Regions from separate parts of the Homo sapiens genome. Here regions 1, 3, 4 and 5 are each linked to region 2. The links are contacts of gene promoters, found by promoter capture Hi-C in human tissues and cell types (Jung and others, 2019). All regions are on one chromosome and are shown on one strand. The core of a region is centred on a gene start or on the middle of the fragment in contact, and the rest is flanking DNA. Distances in the headings are between cores, read along the strand shown. Region 1 overlaps OTUD7A (OTU deubiquitinase 7A). Region 2 holds the start of OTUD7A (OTU deubiquitinase 7A). Region 3 overlaps OTUD7A (OTU deubiquitinase 7A). Region 4 overlaps OTUD7A (OTU deubiquitinase 7A). Region 5 overlaps OTUD7A (OTU deubiquitinase 7A).

Evidence for each region. Contacts are between HindIII fragments. The study calls those that stand out against the background at their distance.
Region 1: a fragment that was not itself captured here is called in contact with the fragment with the promoter of OTUD7A in region 2 in 2 of the 25 tissues and cell types used here (dorsolateral prefrontal cortex and hippocampus).
Region 3: a contact is called between a fragment that was not itself captured here and the fragment with the promoter of OTUD7A in region 2, in 1 of the 25 tissues and cell types used here (dorsolateral prefrontal cortex).
Region 4: a fragment that was not itself captured here is called in contact with the fragment with the promoter of OTUD7A in region 2 in 1 of the 25 tissues and cell types used here (dorsolateral prefrontal cortex).
Region 5: a contact is called between a fragment that was not itself captured here and the fragment with the promoter of OTUD7A in region 2, in 2 of the 25 tissues and cell types used here (dorsolateral prefrontal cortex and lymphoblastoid cells).

Annotation. Positions count from the first base shown.
Region 1 is chr15:31,713,066-31,717,323 of GRCh38, forward strand. The region is part of intron 1 of OTUD7A (OTU deubiquitinase 7A); the gene reads right to left. Among named protein-coding and RNA genes, the nearest start is that of OTUD7A, 160 kb to the right of the region's middle. The HindIII fragment of the contact is 4,221 bases long and covers 1-3,613 here.
Region 2 is chr15:31,868,475-31,872,339 of GRCh38, forward strand. It overlaps OTUD7A (OTU deubiquitinase 7A), which reads right to left and starts at 2,199. Exons shown (of 13, transcript NM_001382637.1): 1 at 2,033-2,199. RefSeq lists a silencer at 2,162-2,231. The HindIII fragment of the contact is 13,679 bases long and covers 1-3,865 here.
Region 3 is chr15:31,734,087-31,738,593 of GRCh38, forward strand. The region is part of intron 1 of OTUD7A (OTU deubiquitinase 7A); the gene reads right to left. Among named protein-coding and RNA genes, the nearest start is that of OTUD7A, 130 kb to the right of the region's middle. The HindIII fragment of the contact is 4,666 bases long and covers 1-4,242 here.
Region 4 is chr15:31,653,754-31,657,706 of GRCh38, forward strand. It overlaps OTUD7A (OTU deubiquitinase 7A), which reads right to left. Exons shown (of 13, transcript NM_001382637.1): 2 at 3,230-3,324; 3 at 1,343-1,497. The coding sequence starts at 1,493. Among named protein-coding and RNA genes, the nearest start is that of OTUD7A, 210 kb to the right of the region's middle. The HindIII fragment of the contact is 4,743 bases long and covers 40-3,953 here.
Region 5 is chr15:31,635,000-31,638,934 of GRCh38, forward strand. The region is part of intron 3 of OTUD7A (OTU deubiquitinase 7A); the gene reads right to left. Among named protein-coding and RNA genes, the nearest start is that of OTUD7A, 230 kb to the right of the region's middle. The HindIII fragment of the contact is 3,326 bases long and covers 10-3,335 here.

The sequences.
Region 1 (4,258 bases), core at 253-2,752, 160 kb before region 2:
ATATTTGACAAAAATGACATTGTGGAGTATTTGAGAGAGTATTTATGTCCACAGTAAATGTGCTGAGTCCATGGGAAAGCCATATGAGAAAATCTGTCTTCTTACTTCACAGTATACATGAAAATCAACTCCAAGTTGATGGCGTTTCTGAATGTAGAGGGTAAAACAATAAATCCTCTAGAAAGCAACATGGAGGAGCATCTGCATGAACTTGGGATGGGCAGAGAGTTCTGAAACAAGATGCCAAAACTACTATTGAAATGGTAAAGTACGCTGGGCACGGTGGCTCACACCTGTGATCCCAGCACTTTGGGAGGCTGGGGCGAGCAGATCACTTAAGGTGGGGAGTTTGAGACAAGCTTGGGCAACATGGTGAAACCTTGTCTCATCTAAAAATACAAAAATTAGCCGAGTGTGGTGGTGGGCGCCTGTAGTCCCAGCTACTCGGGAGGCTGAGGCAGAAGAATCGCTTAAACCCAGGAGGCAGAGGTTGCAATGAGCTGAGATCGTGCCACTACACTCCAGCCAGGACAACAGGGAGAGACTCTGTCTCAATAACGACAACAATAAAAAACCCTAACAGATAAAGTAGATACATTAAGAACTTCTCTGCACTAGCAAACAACCTAGAGAAGGTGAAAAGCAACCTACACAGAGAGAAAACATCATTGCAATCCATAGACTCAGTAAAGGACTGGTACCCTGAATAAACACTTCAGAAGTTAATAAGAAATAAACAGTCAATTCAATAGCAAAATGGAAATATACTTGTACATACACTTCACAAGATGACATCTGAATGGCCAAAAATCAATGAAAAGTTGCTCAACCTTATTAGTCATCAGTGAAATTAAATGAAAATGAAAATTAGATACCCACCAGAATGTCTAAAATTACAAAAATTGAAAATACCGAGTGTTGGCAAAGATGTGACGCAACCAGGGCCCTCCCACGGAGCTGGTGTGAGTGTAATTAGTAAGGCAACTTGGAAAAACCGCTTGGCAGAATCTACCACAGCTCATCCTACACATCCCCTGTAAGCCAGTACTTTCAGCACTCGGTACCTACACAACCAAAATGTGTACACCTGTGCACCAAAAAATACAGGAAGTATCGCCATAGGACTAAGAACTAGAAGCAGCCCAAATGATAACCAATGGATCCACTGGACAATTGGAATATATGGATAAACTACAGTATACTCACACACGGACAAATAGTACATGAATAGCGTAGTATGAATGAATGAACTGGTGGTACACACAGCAAACATTATTTCATTCCATTCATCACACTGAGTTTAAAAATAGGCAAAACTGCAGGTGAGAGGTCAGGAGAATGGAAAGACTGAATAAAGGAGAAAGAATAGGGAGAAGGCTCAAGGGGGCAGATGCCTGCATCTCATGTTCTAGTTTTTGAGCTGGGCAGTGATTATTTAATAAAAAGGCATATTTACATTTTTTTATAATTCATGAAGTTGTACATTTGATGTGCATTTTTCTGTATGTACATTATTCTTCAATAAAAACAATGAGCCGCAAAAATCTACGGGCCATAAAACAGCCCTTATGCAAAGCTAATAAATAAGCTTGTGAAGGACTTTTCCAAATTCTGTCAGCACACATTTTTGAAAAACAGCATTACTGGCATTCAGCTGGACATTTGCTGGTGTGCTATTGATCAGTTCATTTAGTTTAAGTATTTTTACTAACATGAGCAAACCACAGTCTGCCCCTTTCTCCAATTTCTTCTCAACACAGCCACAAGAATCTTTAAAAGATGTAAATTGGCCAGGCGTGGTGGCTCACGCCTATAATCCCAGCACTTTGGGAGGCCGAGGCAGGCGGATCACCTGAGTTCAGGAGTTTCAGACCAGGCTGGCCAACATGGTGAAACCCCGTCTCTACTAAAAATACAAAAATTAGCCGGGTGTGGTGGTGGGCACCTGTAGTCCCTGCTACCTAGGGTGCTGAGGTAGGAGAATTGCTTGAACCTGGGAGGCTGAGGTTGAAGTGAGCTGAGCGCACCACTGCACTCCAGACTGGGCAACAGTGAGACTCTGTCTCAAAAAAACAAAACAAAACAAAAGATGTAAATTATGTCACATCCTACCTTGCTTGAAACCCAACAATAGCTTCCCACTGCACTGGAGTGAGACCAAACTTCTTTCCAAGCCTTCGACTGTCCTGCCTCACTTCGCTGTTCCACCTCTGCAGCTTCAGATGGCGCCTGGCTGTCCAGAACCAGCACTGCAGGCTGAGCCTTCTGTGTGCCCCACACACAGCCTGCTGCTTCCTTGGCCTCTGTGCCCTGGGACTGACTTCACCTGGAAGAGCTTCCACAGTGCTTCCCTTCCCCCTCCTTTTAGTTCAAGTGTCTGCTTCAATTTCACCACTGCTAAGAAGCCTTCTCTGACTTCCTTGCTGAACTACATTCCCCATTATTTCACTGCAGTACCAATCACTTCTTTTGTAGCACTACCATTGTCTGTAATAACACTACATACATCATCTGTCCATTCATTGATCCATCCAGCCAGTCATATATGCCATTCTGTTCCCTGGAGAATTTAAGTTCTGGGAACTTGCTTGTTTTGTCTTTTCTACCCTTGGGACCTTAGTACACAGTTCAGGGGATGCTGCAGCCACTCAGTGAAAACAAGTTGAAGAAATAAATGAAAATTATAAAGTCAACTGGCCATTCAACACATTCCTCTGCTTTATCTCTGAGCATTTCATCCTTTTCCTAACTCCAAAGTGACCCTTTCTTGAAGGGTACACTGCTATTTCCATTCAAGAAAATTCTATCGAGTCCTTCCTACAGGTGCTAGGCTGTGCGCTGTTCTGAGGGTACAATAAGAACGGGTGCTGCCCACAGTGCAGTGGTGCAGTGAGACGCAAATAGAGAGAGCTGTGGCTCATGCTGGTTTGTAAGGAAGTTAGATAGTTATAAAAACTATAAAAACGAATATATACATATTAAAATGTTTATAATTTATAATATAAATATAAAAACGATTTTTTGGCAGAAACCCAAAGAAACAGATAATAGCATGAGAAATATGTGTTTTTTATATATATAAAATAATTTACAATTATATTATTTAAACATATTTTATATATAATAGTATATAAAATACATATAACATAATACACATGTATTATATATAAAATACACAAATATATTTTTATATATTTATATACATTATATAATACATACTACATATTATGTATTATATGTAATATTGATTAATATATTACATATGGATTAATTACATATTATATATTATTACATATGTTATTTCAATAATGGAATTTGTATTAACACCTTTGCTCTGTGTTCTAAAAGGAGATCATCTTGTTGAGATACATTAGCATTCAAAGATGGAGGAGCAAATGACGTGTGAGTGGGCACAGCCTCCACAGAGAGCAACAGGACAGCGGGGAGCATGAGCCTTCAGACCATGGGCACACATGGACCAGCGATGGCTCCCGTGAGAATGTGCAGTGGGGAGAGACAACACATGTTCTGATACCTTTGTTACCGCATCTCAAAGGCACGCTGGAGGCAAACTGATGAGAATCCAACAGTGGGGAATGCTGCATGGAACCTGGCCTATCAATTTTAGTGAGATACTTTGCGGATTAAAAGTTATCAAAAGATGAAGACTTCCCAGGGCTAGGTACCTGGACTACACTATGCAGAATCTGTGCATACGGACAAAGGGAGGAGGCTGCATGGGGAAGTCCCTGGCTGAAGCTGCCCAGAGGCCTTCACCGTGGGGATGAGCCACAAAGCCTGTGGCCTGTGGGGCCGTCACACATCCTGCTCGATAATGTGGCATAAAAGGCCTTCTTTAACTCTGCCTACTTTATTTAAAATTTTATTTTGAAATAATTTCAGATATATAGAAAACTTGCAAAAATAGTATACAGAATTCCTACATAACCTCACAACTAGATCCCCTCAAAGGTTAAAGTTTTACATTTATCATTCTCTCCACATACAAGTCTGTTCTACAGATACTATTCAGGTTTCATCCATTGTCCCAACAATGTCCTTTGTAACAAAATGGTTGTTTTCTGTCCAGGATCCCACATTGCATTTCGTTTTCATGTTTCTAATCTAGTTTTTGAAAATCTGAAACAGTTTCTCAGTCTATCACTTTTTTTCTTTTAAAAAATTTTTATTATACTCTAAGTTCTGGGATACATGTGCAGAAGGTGCAGGTTTGTTACACAGGTATACATGTGCCATG
Region 2 (3,865 bases), core at 949-3,448:
TGAGGACATGTTGTAAAGAAGAATCTCTGCCACAACTCAAGAGTTAAGTTCTACAGCAACTACACACAGCGGGAGCAGTGTCATCCAAAAGCAGCTCACTTGGAGCCAGTTTCTCATCTCACTTAGGCACACCATTGGGAATAAATGCGGCACCATCAGGAGGTCAGAGGCCAAGAATTACACACACTTGCTCAGAGAAAGGTGTCCCCTCTCCTTCTCCACCAAGCTTGGGGGCCTCAGGAGTTACTTTCTAAGGGAAAACCTGCCATCTATGATCCAGGCCCAAGTGAGACCCGCACGTGGCAATACTTCGTAAAGCGGCGATTTCCACCCATTATCAGCCTGAACACTAAAGGCCTAAGTAACCACTGTTTTCCCATTCTTTTCACACCAATACAGGGTTCAAGAGATTGAAGTTCCTAACCAGGTCCCAACTTTTGAGTGGCATATGGTATTAAATTCCTTACAGATCCAATAAAATCACACTAACAATTTAAGGCATGCTTATTTTAACCAATTAGGAGGTGTCATTAATTATTAAATACAAAAATGTCAATACTTTTGTCCCTTATTGGATATCCTTTCGATATGATAGGCTTGAGTAGATACTCAGATTGCCTTGGGAACTTGCTTAGTTTTGTTCCCATAAGAATTGGTACTAATGGCACACTCACAATAAAATAATGGAGTGTTGATCCCATTTAGTGGGGAATGTTTATCCAGAACTGAGTGTGCCGTGCAGATCTACCTCTGTTCTCGTGAACCCTCTTTGGGTCTTGAAGAGGCCTTTGAAGCTGGTGGGACACACGGCTGCTGGGAGGACCCTAGTGAACCTGCCTCCCCGCCTTCGCCCAGGGCAGGCTTCTCCGGGCACACCCTGGAGGAGGAGGAGGAGGATGGTGAAGGACACCTGCAGATTTTCCTGAAGCAATTAAGACCTGTAAAGATTTAGGCCCCGCTGTCAACCTTTTCCTGGACACATTATCTGCCTCATCATATTTTTAAAAATTGTTCCTCTTACAGCCCACTTCCATTTACAAAGGTATCACCTGGCGGTAACCATGTGCATGTCATACATGACTTTCCCCTGGATCCTTGTGCTGTGGATGAAGCGTTTCCCTGATCGGGGTCTCACAAGTTTCCCTTCAGCTACTCTTAAATCTATACATTCTCAAGCCAATAGACAGAAATAAAAGTCATTTGCACTTGTGTGAGGTAGCTGAGTTTACAGAGCAGAGGCAAATCCATTTTATTACAGAGATTCTCAAAGGGCTGCAATAGCTTCACCGGGAGGGAGGAGGGTACACTTGAGCGGTTGTGTCCAATGAAGGAAAGTTTTAGTTAATGATGACATCACTGACATCTCCCAAATTTAAAGGAGCACTTAAAGCACCGCAGATGCAATTTTTTCCCCTCCAGTGAGGAGATACTAGGGAAGGCCTCTGGGTTCACAGCCAAATTGCCTTAATGGTTTGCCTGCTGTCCAGCGAGACCCAGCAGAGCGAGCGGGACGGCGGTGCGCCGGGCCGCGGGGACCCACGCAGTCACAGCTCCGGTGCCCGGCGAGCGGCCTCGCGCGCGGCTCGGGGCCGGGCCCTGCCCGGCCGTCTGCAAGAGCCGCGGGACCCCCGACGCGCGCGCACGGACCGAGGGGTCGGTCGCCCCACGCCTGGCATCACGTTCCAGTGCGGACAGCCAAAGGGCTGAGCGGAGGCAGCAGCCCCGACCCAGCGGTAGCGCCGCGCCCTGCCCGAGAGAGGCGCGCCACGCCGGGCCGGAGCCGGTGGCCCGGGAGCCCGCGGGGTCCGGAGCGGAGCCCGCAATGCAGACGCGCCGGCGAGCCCAGCCGGGGCCCGCGCCCCCCGCGTCCCCGCGCCCCGGCCCCGCGGTCGCCCGGCCTCAACGCCCACCTGCCTCGCCACGGAGCTCGGGAAGGAGACGGCGCCGGCCCCGCGCCCGGAGAGCGCACCTGCCTGGTCCGCGGGCCCGGCCCCGCCGCCCGCCGGCAGCACCGCGGCCAGCGCCGTCTTACCTGCCGCGCCGCGCCGCTCCGCTCCGCCAGCCCGCAGCGCCGCAGTCGCCGCTACCCGACTTCCATTTTCTCTCGCTTTAAAGGAAAACCAGATCAGCTGTTTTGCTCCCGCTCGGGCTCCGCGGCCCCCTCCCCAGCTGCCGCTCGCGGTCCCGGTGGCCTCTCCTCCCCCGCCTCCTCCCGCGCTCCGCTCCGCCCCTCGCGCCCCTCCGCTCCGCCCGCGGCCGCGCACAACGCCCGCCTCCCGGCTCCGCCTGCTGCCTCCGGGCGCGCGCCCTCCTCTGACGTCACCGGTCGCGTTCGCGCCCCGCCCCCGCCCCGCGCGGACGTGCGCGCGCCGCGCCTGTGCCCCGCCCCCGCCCCTCCGGGGCCGGGCACGGAGAGCGCGTGCTCGCGGCCGCGAGCCGAGGAGGGGACGTACAGCGCCCGCGCGCCCGCGAGCCCGCTCCGGCTCTCCCATGCTTGCCCCTCGGGGTGCTCCTTCTGCGCTCTCCGCCTGGACTGCAGGAAAAGGCTGCTTAAACAGCCTGCCTTTTCCTGCTGCCTGACTCGCGCCATCTGCGGCCACCTGTCTCGTTTCTTCCCCCTGGCTGGCGCACCCTTCCTTCCTAAACATCCCAAACTTTCTCCCACCCAGGCTGTCCAGGCTGCAGTTTCTACGCCCTGCGCTGGGGCCTGTGCATCACGCCTAATCCAAAGCTGGTCCTTTTACCTCCCAAAAAGGTTCTCTGACCTTTTCCCATTTTTTGCCTTCCTCTAAAGACTTTTTCACGCCACCCCTTCAGATGGTTCCCCTCCCTGATGGCAAGACCTGCTCGCTGCTCTGGGCCCTTCTCACGTCACCCTGTAGATGTAGTCACGCTTCCTTATCCCAAACAGGACGTTATATTGCAGATGACCCATACCATCCTGGTGTACTTCTAAACAATCATTATTTTACTTTTAGTTTAGGACTTTTTGCTTGACTTTAAACATTGTATATGTTTAATAGTGTTTAATAATTTATTTGACTTTTAAAATTGATATTCAGTAAAATTGGTTATTTGATATATAATCCTGTGATCTTGAACCCTTGTTTGGATTCATGTAACCACTAGCGCAATAAAGAGCTCCCTAGTTCTGCCCTTTTATAACAGCGCCCCCGCCAACCCTAACTTTTGGTAACCACTGATAGGTTCTCCATTGCTACGGTTTTGTCTTTGTGAGTGTGTCGTATACATGGAATTACGCAATATGTAACATTTTGAAACTGACTTTATTCCCTCATCATTATACCTTGGAGATTCATCCATGTTATTGTGTATAGTAATAGTCCTTTTTATTGTTGAGGGGAGTCTCATTATTTGTACCACATTTTGTTTAGTCACCCACTGGAGAATATTTGCGTGGTTTCCAGTTTTTGGCGACTGTGAATAAACATTCTATAAACATTTGCATGCAGCGTTTTGTACGGACAAATTTTTTAAATTAGTTGACTAAATATCTAGGAGTGCAATTGCTAGATCTTATGGTAAATTTGTTTAACTTTATAAGAACCAAACAGTTTTCTAGAGTGGCTATAGCATTTTTATAACTGTCAGCAAATATGAATCCCTTTCCTTCATCCTCACCAGCACTTGATATTGGCTATCTTTATCTATCTATCTGTCCATCCATCCATCCATCCGTCTATCATCTATAATTTTAGACATTCTAGTAGGCATATAGTGCTATATCGTTGTTAATTTTCAATTTTCTACTGAAAAATTATGTGGAGCAACTTTTCATATGCACCTGTATATCTTCTTTGGTGAGATGTTTGTTCACATCTTTTGCCCATTAAAAAAAAAAGGT
Region 3 (4,507 bases), core at 660-3,159, 130 kb before region 2:
ATAATAGTAGTAACACACCAACAACAGTCAAGCCAAGAGCTAAATCAGGAATGTACTCCCATTCACAACTGTCACAAAAAGAATAAAATACCAAGGAATACAGCTAACCAGGGAGGTTAAAAATCTCTACAAGGAAAAATACAAAACACTGCTTAAAGAAATCAGAAGTGACACAAACAAATGGAGAAACATTTCATGCTCATGGATAGGAAGAATCAATATGATTGAAGTGGCCATACTGCCCAAAGCAATTTATAAATTCAATGCTATTCCTATTAAACTACCATTGAGATTCTTCATAGAACTAGAAAAAAGTATCTTAAATTTCATATGGAACCAAAAAAGAGCCTGAATAGCCAAGATAATCATAAGCAAAAAGAACAAAGCTGGAGGCATCATGCTACCTAACTTCAAACTATATTACAGGGCTACGGTAGCCAAAACAGCATGGTACTGGTACAAAAACAGATACGTAGACCAATGGTACACAATAGAGAGACCAGAAATAAGACCGCACACCTTCAACCATTTAATCTTTGACAAACCTGACAAAAACAAGGAACGTGTAAAAGACTCTCTATTTAATAAGTGGTGCTGGGATAACTGGCTAGCCATGTATGGAAGATTGAAACTGAACCCCTTCCTTCCACCATATACAAAAATCAACTCAAGATGGATTAAAGACTTAAATGTAAAACCCAAAACTATAAAAGCTCTGGAAGATAACCTAGGCAATACCATCCTGGACATAGGTACAGGCAGAGATTTCATGATGAAGATGCCAAAAGCAATTGCAACAAAAGCAAAAATTGACAAATGGGATCTAATTAAAGAGCTTCTGCACAGCAAAAGAAACACCAACAGAGTAAACAGACAACCTACAGGATGGGAGAAAATTTCGGCAAACTGTGCATCTAACAAAGGTGTAATATCCAGTATCTATAAGGAACTCAAACAAATTTACAAGAAAAAAACCCCACTAAAAAGTGGGCAAAGGACATGAACAGACACTTCTCAAAAGAAGACATACATGTAGTCAACAATCATATGAATAAAAGTTCAATATCACTGATCATTAAAGACATGCAAATCAAAACCACAATGAGATACCATCTCACACCAGTCAGAATGGCTTTTATTAAAAAGTCAAAAAATGGCAGGGCATGGTGGCTCATGCCTGTAATCCTAGCACTTGGGGAGGCCAAGGCGGGGGTGGATCACCTGAGGTCAGGGGTTCAAGACCAGCCTGGCCAACATGGGGAAACCCCATCTCTACTAAAAATACAAAAAAATTAGTTGGGTGTGGTGGCACACGCCTGTAATCCCAGCTACTCGGGAGGCTGATGCAGGGGAATTGCTAGAACCTGGGAGGCAGAGGTTGCAGTGAGCCAAGATTGAGATTGCGCCACTGTACTACAGCCTGGGCAACAGAGTGAAACTCTGTCTCAAAAAAAAAAAAAAAGTCAAAAAATAACAGATGTTGGCAAGGTTGTGGAGAAAAAGGAACATTTATACATTGCTGGTAGGAGTGTGAATTAGTTCAACCATTGTGGAAGATAGTGTGGTGATTTCTCAAAGACCTAAACATAGAAATATCATTCAACCCAGCAACCCCATTACTGGGTATATACCCAAAGCACTATAAATCATTCTATTGTAAAGGCACATGCACCTATATGTTCATTAAAGCACTATTTACAACAGCAAAGACATGGAATCAACCTAAATGCTCATCAATAACAGGCTGGATAAACAAAATGTGGTACATAAACATCATGGAATACTATGCAACCATAAAAAAGAATGAGATCATGTCTTTTGCAGGGACATGGATGGAGCTGGAGGCCATTATCCTTAACAAACTAACGCAGGAAAAGAAAATCAAATACCACATGTTCTCACTTATAAGTGGGAGCTAAATGATGAGAATACATGGACACATAGAGGGGAACAACACACACTGGGGCCTACTGGAGGGCAGAGGGTGGGAGGAGGGAGAGGATCAGGAAAAATAACTAATGGGTACTAGGCTTAATACCTGGGAGATGAAATAATCTGTACAACAAACCCCCACAACACAAGTTTACCTTTGTAACAAACATGTGCCCCTGAACTTAAAAGTTATAAAAATAAGATTAGTAGTAATAATGATAAAAGCAGTGAACACGTTTACACTTGTAGTTGCACTAGCAATGGGTGAGGGTAACTCCACCCCCCCAAAAAAAAGATTAGCCACAGCTTGATAATTACAGAAGCTGGGTGATGGGTACATGGGACTCAGCATATTACTCTGTATATATTTATAGATGTTTAATATTTTCCATAGTTGAATGTTTAAAGATGTAAGTAAAACAAAATAAATTTAGCAGAAAACAAAAAAGAGGTGCTGTCTTAAGCTCTTCAGATATATTAACATACATCCAAACTCAAACAAGAAAACTGTAGAAAAGAATGACAGGGAGGGAGTGTACGCCTCACACTGAAGCTGTGCCGACCAATGCACTATGAGATCAATGTATGTTCCAGGTGCCATTTCCGTCCCCAGGGAAGAGTAGTTTATTTAACAGACAGAGCTGGCAGAAAACAAATCTATATCCTCCCACCCTCAACACAAATAAGTTTTGGATAAATTTAAAATATAAATGTAAAATAAAATAACCGTAAAAATATTAAAAGAAAATATATTCAAATATTTGTATGACTTTGTATTTGTATGACTTTGGCTTAAGACCTTCTTTTTTTTGGGGGGGCGGGGGGACGGAGTCTCGCTCTGTTGCCAGGCTGGAGTATAGTGGCACAATCTTGGCTCACTACAACCTCCACCTCCCAGGTTCAAGTGATTCTCCTGCCTCAGCCTCCCAAGTAGCTAGGACTACAAGCACACACCACCATGCCCAGCTAATTTTTGTATTTTTAGTAGAGGCAGGGTTTCACTGTGTTGCCCAGGCTGGTCTTGAACTCCTGGGCTCAGGCAACATGCCTGCCTCTGCCTCCCAAAGTGCTGGAATTACAGATGGCATGAAGACCTTCTTAAGCAATGTAGGATAGGTAGAAATCATAAATAAAAATAATAGAAATATTTAACCAGATAATGTTTCTTAATATGGCAAAATAAACAATATAAAAAGACATTAATATACTTAGAAAAATCGTTGAAACACATACACAGGCAAGGGACTAACAGCCCTCTAAACAAAGAACTGCTATCCACTATTGAAATAGAGACAGACAACCCCACAAAAACTCCAGCAAAAGACACGAACAAGCGGTTTACAGAAATGGAATCAAGATGGCCAGTAATGCATCAAAAAAGGTAGTCATGAAAAAACGACGCAAACTGCCAATGCCATATCATTTTCACACAAACTGGAAAAACCCTGGGGATGACATCCAGGGTCAGAGGGATTTATTGAGCACTGCATGCACTTGCATTTTGGGGGAAGATGTGAACTTCTATGCCCTTTTTGGAAAGTAATCTGGAAACGGCGATTCAAGTTCAATATCTAAGAACTTGTTGACTCAGTGGTCCCATTTTTGGAAATATATCTTACAGAAATAAGAGCAGGAGTATATTAGAAAGTGTTCAATGATATAAAGAATTTTTGAAGTGGCAGAAACTGGAGAAAGTCAGCATGCTTCTCAGCAGGAAATAACTGGATAGACTGAATGTGTTCATACGGGACTATCACACAGCATTCGAGAAAGAAATTAGACTGGATTTGCTCATCTGGAAGGACATCCATGCTGTACAGTTTCCTGAGGAAGGGAAGCTTCAGAATCATATGTATTGTAGGGAATCATGGACAGTCACTGGTTGTAAAAAAGTATCTATTTATAAAAGTGCATATTTATGTTCATAAATGTATAGGTGTAGCTGGTAGTTTGTACATAGTATCTGTTAGCTCAAGGAAGTATAAATTGGGTGGTATTATTAACATTTTTTAGCTTCTTTTCATTGTTTCACTGGCTGTAAAAATGTCACTATTTTTGCGAAAAAATTAATTGAGAGCATTTTTGTAAAAGGTTAACAGTTTGCCAGAGAAAACAAGGCAGAGAATTTCCAGGAGGGAATAATTAGTTAAATAGGAGACAGCAAAGACAGAAGAACTTGGGCATGGGGGGATGGGGAGAGAGGGAGGAGGGAGAATGGCAGGGGGCCTGGAGCTAATGATGAGGATTCCATGGGGCCAGATGAGGACCTCTGTGGATCCCTTATCTCCCATCTTTATAACTGGCATCCTAAGTGTAAAGAGGAGAGGTGAAGAATTTGGCTGAGGATGGAGACCTGAGCATGCAATAAGTCAGAATGGAAGAGAAGAAGGAACTCCAGCCACCACCATCAGCGCTGAATCTACAAAAGAGGTCCAGGGAGGGAGATCAGTTGCCTGCATCCTCCTTGGAGCAATCCCATAGTTTCCAAGGGTCCCAGAGGCATTCTGATAGAGCATGACAGTGATCCCTAATTTGACAACCCAGGAGGATTATCTGCCATGACAGTTTTCTGTGG
Region 4 (3,953 bases), core at 1,161-3,660, 210 kb before region 2:
AATGTGAAAAATATAAGTAAAAAAAATAAAGAAAAGAGATGACAACTCTTGCTTCCTATAAGGCTGTCTAGACATTAATACTGATGTTAGTACTAATTACAATAATGGCCACCACAAGCATGGTCTTCTATACTTTTTTGAGCATCTGCTACATGCTGCTTCTTTACCACACATTTTATATCACAACTTCTAATATTCACAGTCACCTTGTAAGGTGGGTTAAGCTCAACATAGAAGAAATCTCAGGGTAAGGGAAGTAAAATAATTTGTCCTATATCTCATAGTTGATAAGTGGCTGAATCTGAACTCAAACTCGGATTTCACTGCCGACCTTATTCCAAGCCTGCTTCTCCACTCTGCTGCCCACTTAATGAAAATAATGGAAACTGACAGGGAGACATTATATAATATAAATAGCAGGAAGGGAGAATCATATTTTGATTTCCATAGATTGCAAAAACTCTCAGCATATTTTATTCTAAACTTGGAGTTGGTTTGAAATTCTAATAGGTTGGGGAAAATTTAAAAACTATGCTTTTGCCATTGCCATTTTTTGATAATCCTCCAGTAGGTGGTTCTTAATTTTCAATATGATTGAATAGTTCTCTCCACTTCTGCAAATGTACAATAATTCTTATTTTCCCTAAGTGACTTAAAGAATCATTGTGACTTACAATTCTTGACCAAGTATTTACTAACTCCACAAATTGCAGTTTATACATTTGAAGTAAAGAGTAAACATTACAAAGTTCTCTCCTCTCACACAGCTGACTGTCCTGAGAAGTTGTAACTGGTCCCTCCCACCTTTACATACCACTGCCGCCATCAGAAAAAAAAAAGAAAGGTAAATCCATTTTAGAGACATAGAAACTACACTTTCATTTTAGTTCACTATGGTTATGGCTGAATACATATCTGAAAACATCATACATACGGAGGATGCAATTTCTCATGCAGCAAATGGTATCTACGTGAAAAGCTGGAGGATGAAGGCTGTCTTCTTGCTTGTGAATTACTCCCAGTGGCTTTCCTGGATAGTAGGTGCTTTTTCCACCAAAAACCCTGGCCTAGAGTATTTTCGTCTCCGCTAACACAGAGATATGAAACTAAGGCCTACCACAAAAGTATTTTCTTGAATGTTTTATAATTTCTGCTCCATTGAACATATTTTCTTAAATATAATAATTAGTGATAAAATTTTGACTTAATATCGGTAAGATGTAACACAAAGCAAAGCCCACTTAGTGCTCAAGTACCACTGTCATCAGGTATTGGAAATCTTCTTATTTGGAAGGTGGTTATGCCCAGAATGGTGGTGTGGGGAACAAGGAGGTGGGCTTACCTTCCAGCAGGTCTCTGGCCAGACCAGGTTCTGCCCCCGTGGACCGAACAAAGTCTGACAGGACTGCGTCCATATCAAGAGTCATAGGATCATGTAGAAGTGCTGCCCAACACTCAGCCGAGGTGGGGTTTGGAAGCACACTAGAAACCATCCATCTGCAGGAAAGAAGAGAAAGGGCATTTTACCACGTGATGGAAATGGAGCTGCAAGTGACAACTACATGCAGAGACCTGAGCGAGAGAACCCTCGAGGGTGGAGCCATTTCCACCTGCTGTCATATTTTTTAGAATTGGTTTGGTCCAACTGCCTGATTCTTCATGCAAGACATTATATTATAGAATGCTAACTAAAATTTCATCCCTGTGTACATGCCATGTGAGAGAAGGGGTATTATGAGCCAAATGTTTGTGTTCCCTCCCAAAATTCATATGTTGATATCTAATCTCCAAGGTGATGGAGAAAGACAGTGCCATCTATGAAGCAGGAAATGGGCCCTTACTAGACACCAAATCTGCTGGTTCCCTGATCTTAGACTTCCCAGCCTTTAGTACTGTGTGGAATACATTTCTGTTGTTCATAAGCCTCCCAAGCTATTGTATTTTGACATAGCAGCCCAGATAGACTAAGGCAAGGGGTCATCACTATCTCCAGCACTCCTGAACTTACATTTTATTAATTCCAATAACTGATGAGGAAAAAAGACTATTTTAAAATTTCAAACACCTAAGTATACCTAGAAAAATTCAGTTGGAGTTGCTAGATTTCTAATCCTCTTCCGAATTGTATAGACTTGTAATACTTCCACAATGTGATGAATGTTACCCACTCTATTCCAATTATGCCTTTATCAGTGTGCCATCCTACCCCCTCAGCTCTCACCCCTTACTTGGCTATTAGGAAAGACTAATAGCCAAGGTTAATCCACAGTTGACGGAAATACCACACTTGCTGAAGATGGCTACTGAACTATCTACCATCCCTCTAAGAGCTGCCATCAATCCAACAACATTCTTAAGAATGTCAGATTTCCCAGGCAGCATGATCCCAGCCAGAGAAATAGAATGGATGTACAGCAGCTTGACCCAGGCTGACTGTAGCAGCTGACTGCTGGGGAAAAGCAACTGTGACATTACAAGTGAGAGTAACTTACACTAGTGAATGGTGCTGGGGCCCCAGTGGGTGCTCAATCTTTGCCGGTGGAGTGCAAATGCATCCTTGTGTTTGTGTAGATAAGAGGTCTGCAAGTTATAGACCATGGGCCACATGTGGTCTGCCACCCATTTTTGTAAATGAAGTTTTATGGGAACACAGCCATACCCACTCATTTGCATAGCGTCTGTGGCTGCTTTTGCACCTGGCTGAGTTGAGTAGTTAAAACAGAGACCCTTAAGGTCCACAAAATTGAAAAGATGTACTTCCTGGAACTTTATGGAAAAAGCTTGCAGACCCCATTACAGGCAATGGAAAATTTTATGCTAGGAAGTATGTAATTAATTTTACATATTGTGGGGTGAGTTTGAATCCCATGCTATTGATGACTGTCCTCTGTTCTTTCTTTCACAGTAACCCACTGGGATGGGTGCTGCTTGGTGGAGTAGGTCCTGTGTCAGTGGCCCATGCTTTAGAGCCAGGCACATAGCCTGATTTGACCCTGGCCCTGCCCCTGTCCAGCTGTGACATGGGCTTCACCTCTCTGAGCCCTCCTGATTTTCTGTAGGAATGCAGGAAATGAGCTCACCTAACGTGCAAGACCCTGAGGACTGAGGGTCTCAGGCAGGGAGGTCTGTACCCTCAGAGACATTCACTGTGACCACCCCGTCTTGCACACAGCTCCTATTGGGTACAATTTTTAGTTGATGCGGCCAGAAAAGAAGAAAATTATTTGACCTGATGTATATGGTACCAATTAGGAAATTGATTTCTTCCTTCTCTCCATGCACTGGGGCCTCGGCCGGGAGAGTCTCTTCTTTCGTCACTGCCACCTGGGGGACAGATCAGAGAACAAGAGCATGTGATCTCCTTACTCTCAGACTGAGGCCGAAGGCTTGGCTTTTTGTCACAGGAGGCTGGATCTTGGCCTTGGCCAATTGCCTGAGGCATGTACTCTGTCTTCCTGGGCCCTACAGGTCCCCGCTTACCAGCTGACCAGCAACTCCCATGCCCGGGCCTGGCCAGGGGCTGTCTCAGCTTTCCTCGTTTTAGCAAGCACATCTATTTCAGTGAGGATTACTTGCACAGCACAGAGCTGTTTTTTCCTTTTCCTTTTTCTTTTTTTTTTTGAGACAGAGTCTTGCTCTGTCGCCCAGGCTGGAGTGCAGTGGCGCGATCTCGGCTCACTGGAAGCTCCGCCTCCCGGGTTCATGCCATCCTCCTTGCCTCAGCCTCCTGAGTAGCTGGGAGTACAGGCGCCCACCACCATGCCCAGCTAATTTTTTTTTTGTATTTTTAGTAGAGACAGGGTTTCACCATGTTAGCTAGGATGGTCTCGATCTCCTGACCTTGTGATCCGCTCACCTCAGCCTCCCAGAGTGCTGGGATTGCAGGCGTGAGCCACCACACCCAGCTTTCCAGATGTATTTCTTAAACCTCACACTGCCACCATCACCACACC
Region 5 (3,935 bases), core at 423-2,922, 230 kb before region 2:
AATCAGCTCTAACTTCAGTTCCACCTTAAACTCCAAAGACACCATCAGCAAGTCCTAGGTCCTTAGTGGTTCTTGGTTTCTGCCTTCTAAAGCAAGGGGTTTGAGCCCCTCCAAGTCTGTGACTGAAGCTTTTAAACCCCAAGCAAAGCTCCATTCATAGTCCTTCTTGGCAAGTTTTGACCCACTGCTAGTCCTTCCCTATCTAGAAAGACTCTCCTTTGTTTTGACCCCAAGTAGCCCCCATTTCCTCTTAGGAAAACCTGGTACTAAATACGGCACTACCTTGGTGCTCCTGGGACCTACAGGTCACCTTGCTCACTGCCCTCAATTTTACAGATGAGAAAACAGAGCAAGAAGATCAAGAAACTTGTTGAAGATTGCACAGTAAATTAGTAAGACCTAGGGCTAGCGGAGCAAATAATATTTCCTGCCTGAAAACACAAAGACCTCCCATCCAAGCATCCTTCCCAGCAGCCAATGGAACCAGGCGGGGAGAGACCTGGGGGCAGAGAGCCCCGACACTGCCTTGCCGCTGCACTGAGGATGGCACCTGGTGCTTCCAGGGAGGGTGTATGAAGGCGCTAACTCCAACCTGGATGTTTTAGAAAGCAGACAGTGGGGCATGTACTACAACTCTCTTATTCAACATAAAAGAATGCAAATGATAAAATTCTAAGATGCCTAAGTGGGGTTTGAAAAAGTCGATGTAACTGGAGGTTAAATGTGACATGTGAAACCCACAAGCAAGTGAAGATCTGAAAACTGTCTTGTTAATTCACTTCAGGCTGCCCAGTTTTTGTAGGGACAGCTGTGGCTACAAACGGGGGCCATGTGGGAAGGGCACTCTCCCTGCACTGTCACCTGCATGCCCAGGATTGGCAAGGAGAGCCACTGCCCCCCACTTGCCAGCTGGTCTCCGGCAGCATGAAAACAGGGGGCGTGGCAGTTCCTGCCATAAAGAGGAAAATGATACACCTTATCCCAGACGCCAGGTGCTGTCTGCATCAGTCCTTTTAAAAATTTAATCGCTTTATACAATTGACACCAAATAAAATGCACATATTTAAGTTTATAATTTGAGAAGCTGACACGTGTCCATACAGACACACCTCATTTTACTGTGCTTTACTGTATTGCCCTTTGAAGATACTGCATTTTCTTTTTACAAATTAAAGGTTTGTGGCAACCCTGTGCTGAGCAAGTTTATTGGCATCATTTTTCAAACAGCATGCACTCACTGTGCATCTCTGTGTCACATTTTGGGAATTCTCACAGTATTTCAAACTTTTCCATTAGGATTATATCTGTTATAGTGATCTGTGCTCAGTGATCTTTGATGTTACTGTTGTAATTACAACAGTTCTGGTTCTGGGGCACCACGAACCACACCCACACATACCGATGAACTTAATAAACGTTGTGTGTGTTCTGACTGCTCCACTGACCAGTGATTCTCCTGTCTCCCTCTCCTCAGGCCTCCCTATTCCCTGAGACACAACATATTAAAGTTAGGCTATTAACAACCCTAAAATGTCAAGTTGTTCAAATGGAAAAAAAAAAGAATTTCATGTTTCACTTTAAATCAAAAGCTAGGAATGGTTAAGCTTAGTGAGGAAGGCATTTTAAAAGCTAAGATGGGCCAAAAGCTAGGCCTCTTACACTAAACAGTTAACTAACTTTTGAATGCAAAGGAATAATTATTGAAAGAAATTAGTAGTGCTACTCCAGTGAATACACAAATGATAAGAAAGTGAAACAGTCTTATTGCCGATACGGAGAAAGTTTCAGTGGTCTGTGGTCTGGATAGATCAAACCAGTTACAATATTCCCTTAAGCCAAAGCCTAATCCAGAGCAAGACCCTAACTCTCTTCAATTCTACGGAGGCTAAGAGAGGTGAGGAAGCTACAGAAGAAAAGTTAGAAGCTAGCAGAGGCTGGTTCATGAGGTTTAAGGAAAAAAGCCATCTTCAATAACATAAAAGTTTCATGTTATTGCACTGGGGAAGTGGCAAGTGCTGATGGAGAAGCTGCAGCAAGATCTCTAGATCTTAGAAGATCTAGCTAACATCGCTGATTAAGGTGGCTACACTATACAACAGATGTTCAATGTAGACAACACAGCCCTCTATTGGAAGAAGATGTTATCTAGGCTAGATGAGAATAAGTCTCTGCCTGGCTTCAAAGCTTCTACAGACAGGGACAATTGTAGCTGGTGACTTTAAGTTGAAACCAATGCTCATTTATCATTCTGAAAGTTCTAGTGCCCTTAAGAATGACACTAAATCTACTCTTCCTGTGCTCTATAGGAACAAAGAAGCCTGGGCACAGCACATCTGTTGATACCTTGGTTTACTGAATATTTTAAGCTCATTGCTGAGACATGCTGCTCAGAAAGAAAGATTTCTTTCAAAATATTACTGCTCATTTGACAATGCACCTAGTTACCCAAGAGCTCTGATGAAGATGTACAAGATCAATGTTTTCACGTCTGCTAATACAACATCCATTCTGTACTCCACGGATCAAGGAGCAATTTTGACTTGCAACTCTTATTACTTAAGAAATACATTTTATAAGGCTATAACTGCCATAGATAGTGATTCCTCTGATAGATCTGGGCAAAGTACATTGAAAACCTTCTGGAAAGGATTCACAACTCTAGAAGTCAATAAGAACATCTGTGATTCATGGGAGGTGGTCAAATTATCAACATTAACAGGAGTTTGTAAGAAATGGATTCCAACTCTCATGGATGACTTTGTGGGGTCCAAGACTTCAGTGGAAGAATTAACTGCAGATGTGGTGGAAGAGAACTGGAATTAGAAGTGGAGTCTGAAGATGTGACTAAATTGCTACAATCTCAAGTTGGGGAGTTGCTTCTTATGGATGAGCAAGGAAAGTGGTTTCTTGAGATGGAATCTGCTCCTGGTAAAGATGCTGTGAACACTGCTGAAATGACAAAAAGGATTTAGAAATTACAAAATGCATTTGATAAAGCAGCAGCAAGGTTTCAGAGGACTGACTTCAATTTTGAAAGAAGTTCCACTGTGGGTAAAATGCTATCAAATAGCATCACACATGCTACAGAGAAATCTTTCATGAGAGGAAGAGTCAATTAAATGCATCAAACTTCACGATTGTCTTATTTTAAGAAATTGTCACAGCCACCCCAACCTTCAGCAATCACCACCCTGATCAGTTAGCAGCCATAAACATTGAGGCAAGACCCTCCACCAGCAAAAAGATTATGACTCACTGAAGGCTCAGATGATTGTTAGCATTTTTGGCAATAAAGTATTTTTTCAAATTAAGTTATGTACATTTTTTAGATATAATGCTATTGAACACTTAGTAGACTACAGAATAGTATAAAGATAACTTTTTTTTTTTTTTTTTTTGAGACAGGGTCTTGCTCTGTCACCCAGACTGGAGTAGAGTGGCGTGATTTCCACTCACTGCAACCTCTGTCTCCTCGACTCAAGCAATCCTCCCACCTCAGCCTCCCCAGTAGCTGGGACGACAGGCATGCACCACCAAACCAGGCTGATTTTTGTAGGTTTTTGTTTTTTTTTTTTTCAATAGAGACGAGGTCTCACCATGCTGCCCAAGCTGGTCTGGAACTCTGGGCTCAAGCTATCCGTCCTCCTTGGCTCTCAAAGTGCTGGGACTACAGGTGTGAGCCACTGTGCTTAGCCAACATAATTTCTATATGCACTAGAAAACCAAAAAATTCATGTGACTTGCTTTATTGCTATATTTATTGCAGTGGTCTGGAACTGAATCTGCAATACCTCTGAGGTCTGTTATCACTGCAAGATACCATACATATATACCACTCTCAAAAGATTCCTCAGGCCAGGTGCGGTCGCTCACGCCTATAATCCCAGCGCTTTGGGAGGCCGAGGTAGGCAAATCATGAGGTCAGGAGATCGAGA